Linked DNA regions of Homo sapiens: regions 1 and 2 are each linked to region 3. The links are contacts of gene promoters, found by promoter capture Hi-C in human tissues and cell types (Jung and others, 2019). All regions are on one chromosome and are shown on one strand. Each heading gives the region's core, a stretch centred on a gene start or on the middle of the fragment in contact. The rest is flanking DNA. Distances are from core to core; before and after follow the strand shown.

Region 1 (2,737 bases), core at 118-2,617, 330 kb before region 3:
CGTCGGGGAGGCTTGGGCCACACAGGAGCCCATGGAGTGGGTGGGAGGCTCAGGCATGGCGGGCTGCAGGTCCCGAGCCCTGCCCTGTGGGAAGGCAGCTAAGGCCCGGCGAGAAATCGAGCGCAGCGCCGGTGGGCCAGCACTGCTGGGGGACTCAGTACACCCTCTGCAGCCACTGGCCCGGGTGCTAAGTCCCCCATTGCCCAGGGCCAGCAGGGCTGGCTGGCTGCTCCGAGTGCGGGGCCCACCAACCCCATGCCCACCCGGAACTCCAGCTGGCCCGCAAGCGCCGCACGCAGCCCCGGTTCCCGCTCGTGCCTCTCCCTCCACACCTCCCTGCAAGCTGAGGGAGTGGGCTCTGGCCTTGGCCAGCCCAGAAAGGGGCTCCCACAGTGCAGTGGGGGGCTGAAGGGCTCCTCAAATACCACCAAAGTGGGAGCCCAGGCAGGGGAGGTGCCGAGAGCAAGCGAGGGCTCTGAGAACTGCCAGCATGCTGTCACCTCTCACCAGCTACTCGGGAGGCTGAGGCAGGAGAATCGCTTGAACCCAAGAGGCAGAGGTTTCAGTGAGCCGAGGTCACACCACTGCTCTCCAGCCTGGTGACAGAGCGAGACTCCATCTCAAAAAAAAAAAGTGGGCAAGGACATGAACAGACATTTTTCAAAAGAAGACGTGCAGCCAACAAGCATTTGAAAAAATGCTCAACATCACTAATCATTAGAGAAATACAAATTAAACCACAATGAGATGCCATCTCATGCCAGTCAGAATAGCTATTATTAAAAAGTAAAAAACAAAAAAAAATATGCTGGTTGCAGAGAAAAGGGAACATTTATACACTGCTGGTGGGAATGTAAATTAGTTCAGCCATTGTGGAAAGCAATTTGGCGACTTCTCAAAGAACTTAAAGCAGAATTACTATTCACCCGGCAATCTCATCATTGGATATATACCAAAAGGAATATAAATTGTTCTACCATAAAGACATATGCATGCATATGTTCATTGCAGCACTGTTCACAAGATCAAAGACATGGAATCAACCTAAATATGCCCATCAGTGGTAGACTGGATAAAGAAAGTGTGATACATGTACACCATGGAATACCATGCAGCCATAAAAACGAATGAGGTCACGTTCTTTGCACCAACATGGATGAAGCTAGAGGCCATTGTCCTAAGCAAACTAATGCAGGAACAGAAAACAAAATACTGTATGTTCTCACTTATCAGTGGGAGCTAAACATCAAGTACATATGGACAGAGAGATGAGAACAACAGACACTGGGGCCTACTTGAGAGGTTGGGAGGAGGGTGAAGATCGAAAAACTACCTATTGGGTACTATGCTTATTACCTGGGTGTGAAATAGTCTGAACACCAAATCCCCGTGAACAATACCCGTATCCCTGAACCTGGAATAAAAGTTTAAAAAAAAAAAGTTCTTTGCTAGACAAAGGTTTTAAATCTGCTTTAATATTTGATTCCTTGTCCCTCTAATTTTTTTCTCTGCGTTTATTTGCAGTTCTCTGGATATTTGGGGAAACAATACTTAAATGTGAAGATGACACTCTTTTTTTTTTTTTTTTTGAGACGGAGTCTCACTCTGGATGACACTCTTAATATGATCTTTGCTAAGGGACTGGGTCACTCTTTTCAACCAAGAAGTCTCTTGAAATCTTGCTTTTTCATAGCATTCTTCAAGGCTGAATCTTACAGACTGAGTCTACAGAGAGAGAACCCATTTCCAGAGTTTCTAGATTCCTTCTATTCTCTTTAAATTCTGCTTACAAACCAGCTCATTCTGTGTTGAGCTCATCAGTTTTTTGGTAATATCTTGTTAAAAGAAGCTAATAGTAGCCAGCACTTAACTCCTTGTTCTTTCCAGTCATTTCTCTTAGTTCTCCATGGTCGGCTGGCATGTGGTCTGCCTTATAAACTTTTGTAGATGACAGTTTAGCAATGTTTTGCCACTGTAAAACATAGGCTGCCGTCTCTCCAGACTCTAGTTATCAGTTTCCTGCCATCCTAAACTTGACAACTAAGCCAGTAACAAATAAGTTGGGTTCTTAGCATCATAGCACTCACATTCTAAAGGGAAAAACTAGTAAATGGTCCCATCTAGATGGAAGTTGGCAAGGAAATATAGTTTAGTTGGTACCCAGCAAGAATGAGAAACAATTTTGATTAGCATCTAGCCAGGTTCTGCTGCTATGAAGAAGGAAAGAACTATTATATTTCTGATGATTCCACCTACTAGCAGTTACCAAGAAGCCAATCTACATTATATGAAAATGGTAGCCTCTTAAACATTCTTTAATCTTATTTTATAAATTATAAAATTAAATGGCCTAATTGACACACGATTAAATATTTTAAGACTAACAGTTCCCATATTTTTGGAGACCCTGTAGTTTGCCAATATTTAACCGCATTTAAAACATTTCCTTACGTTGTATCTTCTAGGTATTTAATATCTAATTGAATTGTTACATTTAAGTGTTTTAAACCACAGAAATGATTTTCTTTTCAAAGCCTAGTGATTTTTCTGTTTTACATTAAAATTTTTCCTATACTGTGATTAAATATATGCTTTTTTAGTATTTATACTCTATGCCTCCTTAATACAAATTTATGATTATTTCTTTAGTTTCTTCTAGAAATGTTTAAAATGTTTTTCTTATTTCAAATGCATGTCGACTTTATAAGAAATTGTAGATAAAAGATATATTACAAAA
Region 2 (2,732 bases), core at 9-2,508, 490 kb before region 3:
TTTTATTATAAAGAAGTAATAGTGGACAGGACTTGATTATACACTAGATATTAGACTATGGAAAGTATCCAAGATTGCTACTTGGTTTCTGACTTAAGTAATTAAATGGATGAGCGCCGGTGTAATTCACTGAGACAGGGAACACTGTAGGAAGCTTGGAGGGAGGATCATAAATTCAATCTGAGTTTGAGGAACTTTTGAGATGTCTAAGTAGATATGCCAAGCAATCACAATATATGAGCCAGCAGCTCAGATGAGAGGTTTCTGCTTGAGAAATAAATTTGCAACATTTGGTTGTATTATTCATAAGTCAGAAATCAAGCCATGGCTATGAATGATACTGAATAAGGAAAAATTATATAGTGAAAGAAGGGAGCATAGAACAGAGGCTCATGGAACTTGAACATTTAATGTCTAGATGGGTAAGGATGAATGTTCTTTCAAGGTGGCTGAGAAGGAGGGGCCAGAGAGGGAAGAGAAAAACCAAAGGAATATGGGCCCCTAACCTCTTAATGCTTGGTTTTGATGGTATGAAGGTGTTTCAAGTAAAGAGGATGTTTCTGATAAAAAGTTGACTCCAATTTCAAATGTTTCTGATGGATTGTGTGAGATGAGGATTGAAAACTGCCCTTTGGATTTAGTGATATGGAAGTCGATGGTGATTAGATAGAGAGGTTTTAATTTAAGAAGCCAGAAAGGAGTCAGTTGAGAGGTGAGAGGTGACATAATTAGACAATGAATTTAGACTACTTTTTCAAGAAATTTTAATACCAAGGGAAAGGGACAGATAATTTGGGAGCTGGAGAGGGTTGTGTGTGTGTATGCATGCATGTGTGCTAATAGGAAGCTTCTCATAATTTCACCTGTCCCCATGAAAAGAAACTGTTGACTATACATAAGAGAGCTATCTAAGGTTAACTAAGAATTCTTTCTCTGATCCATTTCAGAGGCTTTGAGACAACAGCTGAATTGCTCATCTCATTGTCTTAGAACATAGAAAGAGCAGAGCTTGTAGAAGTGAACAGTCTCATGTATATGGGCCAGGAGTTACCTCATAAACTGCTAACCTTCTTTTTAACAGGACATAGTTTATTTTGAGCTTGACTAGGGGAAAAAGGGATTTAGGCAGTGTATCAAACTGTTCTTGCATTGCTATAAAGAAATACCTGAAAGTGGGCAATTTATAAAAAGAGAGGTTTAGTTGGCTTACAGTACTGAAGGCTGTACAAGAAGCATAGCAGCATCTGCTTCTGGGGAGGCCTCAGGGGGCTTTTACTCATGGCAGAAGGCAAAGCAGGAGCAGACATTTCACATGGCAAAAGCAGGGGCAAGAAAAAGAGAGACAGTTGTGGGGAGGGGAGGTGCCACACACTTTTAAAAGACCGGATCTCACAAGAACTCACTATGGCAAAAAAGCAAAAAGAGGATGGTGCTAAACCATTTGATATGGTTTGGTTCTGTGTCCCCACCCAAATCTTGGGTCAAATTTTAATTCCTATTGCTGGGGGAGGGACCGAGTAGGAGGTGACTGGATCACACGGGCAGATTTTCCACTTGCTGTTCTCATGATAGTGAGTGAGTTCTCACGATATCAGGCTGTTTAAAAGTGTGTAGCACTTCCCCTTTCACTCTCTCTCTCCTGCCACCATGAGAAAATGAGCTTGCTTCCCTTTTGCCTTCCCCCATGATTGTAAGTTTCCTGAGACATCCCAGCCATGCTTCCTATACAGCCTGTGGAGTCAATTAAACCTCTTTTTTTTCATAAATCACCCAGTCTCAGGGAGTTCATTATAGCAGTGTGGGAACAGACTAATACACCATCATTCATGAGAGATCCACCCCCATGATCCAATCACCTTCCACCAGGCCCTGTCTCTAATATTGGAAATTACAATTCAGCGTGAGATTTGGGCAAGAACAAATATCCAAACTATATTAGGCAGAGTCAACAAACTGGGAAAATATTTATGATCGCCTTGTATTTCTGCCTCTGCTGATAGAGGAGAGGATTTCTATCTTCTCTTTCAAGGCAGGGAAGAGTTTGGGATGGGTTATTTTTATTCTCTGCACACTCACCTATACTCACTGCTGCCCAGGAAGAATGCCTTATCTTAGAGTTCCATGTCCACTGGGCCCCCTTTCAGTAGGTAGACTCCCTGCATATAACAGAAAAATGCACATTGTTCTCTCTCTTTCTCTTTATCAGCTTCCCTACCTACAGCTGGGGAGTAAGTCAGGAGGAGCTTGAACCAAAGATTCTTTAGTTTTTGGTTCAGCAGCAAGGTTATAGAATCCTCATTAGGCTTCCTGGGGTCTATCATAATTTTGTGTTGGAGTATTAAGCAATTGCTCATATTTATATAATTAATCATTTTCTCCCCCATTTGATTAATTATCTTAGTGAGTTCCACTAGTCAGTGCTCCAAAGTGGTGAACCTTTACAGTCTATACTAAGAAATTCAATGTTAATTTCTCAGAATAAAGATAAAAATACTGGAACTGGAAGGGATATTAGAAATCATCTAGTCCAAATTCCTCATTTCATGAGGAAATTGAGCCCGGGGAGATTACATGCTTTCCCAAGGCACAAAGTTAGTGAATGGCAAATATGAAATTAGTAGTCATTATATGAGGGATTTTACTTTTGGACATATCTGAGTTTGGAACATGTCTTCATGCCTTAGTAACTGCAGCATCTTGGCAAGTTGCTTAGCCTCTCTGACACTACTTTT
Region 3 (2,700 bases), core at 41-2,540:
GACCCTTTCTATAACCATTCTCAATAATCTTTAGGATTTTCATTACATTTCTATTTTTTCCTACTCGGCAAACTTGTAAGACTGTAACTGTTAATCCCATTCTTCCTTCCAGATTGCAAGACAAAAGCAGCATACACACTCTGCCTGATGCGAAGTCAATTTCATTCGAACCCTTTAGGATTTAAAAATAAAAACTGTTTTGCCAGCACAAGATGTCACCGCTCTCTTACCATATCATCCCCTTTCCCTCTTCGTAATATATTCATCAAGTTCACTGAGTATGTATTCATCAACAGTCCCTTTACGTGGGACCGTGAGCCCCTACCTTTTTCAATTTGATGAGTGAGAAGATAAGTAACCTTGAAGCCAGATTTTCAGAGAGAGAGAGAGAGACTGCAGGACCAGCTGCGGAGCTGGGCTGCGCGATGCCCCTGGCTCCTCCCTGGGGCTGGAGGAGCGGGAGACCTTCGGCGAGGCCTGTCACTCACCTGACTGGGTGCCTGAATTGGTAAAGCTTTCCTGAGGCTGCGGTCATTCCAGGGCCATCGGGCATCTGGAGAGGAAAGGAAGTGAATCCAGTTATCACCCACCTCCTTCTAGAAAGTGGAAACGTGCACGACCCAGTGTTCCTCGTGCCCGCTGGGAATGTAACCCCAGGGCTCTCAGCAGCCTCGCTCCCGGCTGGGTGCCTGTGGCCCATCGCTCCAGAGGACACATCCGCCGCGTCGGCACCTTTATGGCCACCGGCAGGCGGGATGTTAAGCGAGAGGCAGGACCCGGTGTCTCGCATGTCTCTCTCAGGCCCTGCGTCCCGAGAGCCCTGGTCGATCTTCTGCACCCGTGGGAGGCGCGGCCTGAGACGCGTGGCTCACTCACCGCCTCCGCGGCGTGGTTCGGCGTCTCCTCTTCTTTCTTGCCTCCGGCGTCCACCCAGGGTCTCCAGAAGCCTGCGTATCTGCGGGATAGGGGAGCACAAGGCGCGCAGAGGAGACGTGAGCCCAGACCCGGGAGAATCCACCGAAGCCGAGCGCTGGCACCGGGCAGTGGGGGATGGAGAGTTGGAGGGGAGGAGCTGGGGAGGCGCAGGAGGGAGAGACGGGGGAAGCTGGGAGGCGCAGAGCAGCGCGGGGAAGCCTACCCGGAGTCCGCGCCCGCGCGCCGCGTAGGGCCGTCGGTGGCCGCGCACGCCGCAGCTCCACTCTCTGTACCCTCTGCGCCTCCCGCGTTCTCCATGACGCCGCAGAGCTGGGCGGAAGGCCGCTGCCAGCTCGCGGGCAATCTTGACCAGTTCCAGTAGGTCCGAGACCCGAGCTTTATATAGCCCTCGCGGCCTGCTGCACATTGAGAGGTTCGCTGCCTCTCCGCCCCTCTCCCTGCTAGCCGCATAAACAAAAAGGCTGCGCGTGAAGGCGCACCGGGCTGAGCCCCGGGTGTGAACGCGTGCAACTCCCAAATGGCCCGGGACAGGGTTTTGTCGAGCGAATGTTAATCGCCCTTCGACACATGGCTGCGGAGAAAAACAACATTCGCCCGAGCAGCCAATTTCCGTGTGAAGAGGCCAGGAGGAGATGGAATTAAGCGAGTCTACACGTTTTGTGGATTTCTGCAAAAAGGCCAAGTGACTGGTTAATTGCTTGATTCGCTGGAGACTCAGGACTTGGCCTGTGGCAAATCAACTGGTTCTGCATCCCGTGTTCTAAAAGCTGGGATGCAGACTAGAATTCAAAGGAATAAACTTAATTCCTCTTCATGGAACAATTTTCTAAAAAATGGGGAGAATGCATGGACTCCTTAAGAGAGGAATGTCGGTTTTTTAAAAAAGTATTGATAAACTAGGTTCATACTCCAGCCTATTATTATTTGAAGATAATAGAAAATTATTGGCAACAAGAGGTAAATTGTAAAAGATTCGCTGTTCTGGCTAAGAGAGCCAGAGACTGGAGTCATGTGATTTGGGCATAGAGCTCTAAATTATCTTCTCGTGTCTTTTGTGATTTTCCCCAACATTTTATCAGTGTCCTCCTACAATAACTTTTGAGTTCGTCTATACACCTCTGTCACTACTTGGTATTTTGTCACTCAATGGTAATTACAAAATTCTTTTTTGAGGGCAGTGTTGTGGAATGATAATGAAATCTTGAAAAGTTATGATATGAGACAAGTTAATCAAACGTCTGCACCCCTGTTTCTCTGATTTGAGTTACCCCTCACTTATCTACCACTAAACTTTGTAAAAAGTGTTATGCATCGAGGAAAAGATGATATATAAATGTTATAATTTTTTTCAAAATGTTTTAAATAATAAAACTGGACTTTCTCTTAAAAGTTTAGACAAAAATCTTGATTGTAAACTATAGTTGTCTCTGCTATTCATTCAGCTACTGCATAGGAAAATAATTTAATTATTAATAGTAGCTAAGAGCCTATAATGATCTACCTGCCAGGAAGGTGAGATTTGGGTTGCTTCTGATAAGAAAATCAGTAAGGATAGATACCTAATGCATGTCTGCATCCCCTACAGTTATTGTTAGGCTAAATAAAATAAAGCTTATAAAATGCGTTTTGCAGTGCCTGGCATATAGTAAGCCTTCAACAGATTTTAAGCTACGTAAAAAAATATAAGGCCTTAACAGATGTTAACCTTTCTGATAAAATGGCTTATTATTTCAGTTCCATAATGTAAACTAGTTAAATCATTGT

Evidence for each region. Contacts are between HindIII fragments. The study calls those that stand out against the background at their distance.
Region 1: a fragment that was not itself captured here is called in contact with the fragment with the promoter of RIPPLY2 in region 3 in 1 of the 25 tissues and cell types used here (lymphoblastoid cells).
Region 2: a contact is called between a fragment that was not itself captured here and the fragment with the promoter of RIPPLY2 in region 3, in 1 of the 25 tissues and cell types used here (lymphoblastoid cells).

Annotation. Positions count from the first base shown.
Region 1 is chr6:84,186,956-84,189,692 of GRCh38, reverse strand. The region is part of intron 11 of CEP162 (centrosomal protein 162); the gene reads left to right. Among named protein-coding and RNA genes, the nearest start is that of CEP162, 39 kb to the left of the region's middle. The HindIII fragment of the contact is 6,083 bases long and covers 1-2,737 here.
Region 2 is chr6:84,343,076-84,345,807 of GRCh38, reverse strand. No RefSeq gene overlaps it. Among named protein-coding and RNA genes, the nearest start is that of CEP162, 120 kb to the right of the region's middle. The HindIII fragment of the contact is 3,479 bases long and covers 1-2,732 here.
Region 3 is chr6:83,851,950-83,854,649 of GRCh38, reverse strand. RIPPLY2 (ripply transcriptional repressor 2) reads right to left here and starts at 1,290. Exons shown (of 4, transcript NM_001009994.3): 1 at 1,139-1,290; 2 at 877-955; 3 at 489-553. The coding sequence starts at 1,233. RIPPLY2-CYB5R4 (RIPPLY2-CYB5R4 readthrough) reads right to left here and starts at 1,290. Exons shown (of 18, transcript NR_174604.1): 1 at 1,139-1,290; 2 at 877-955; 3 at 489-553. The HindIII fragment of the contact is 6,654 bases long and covers 1-2,700 here.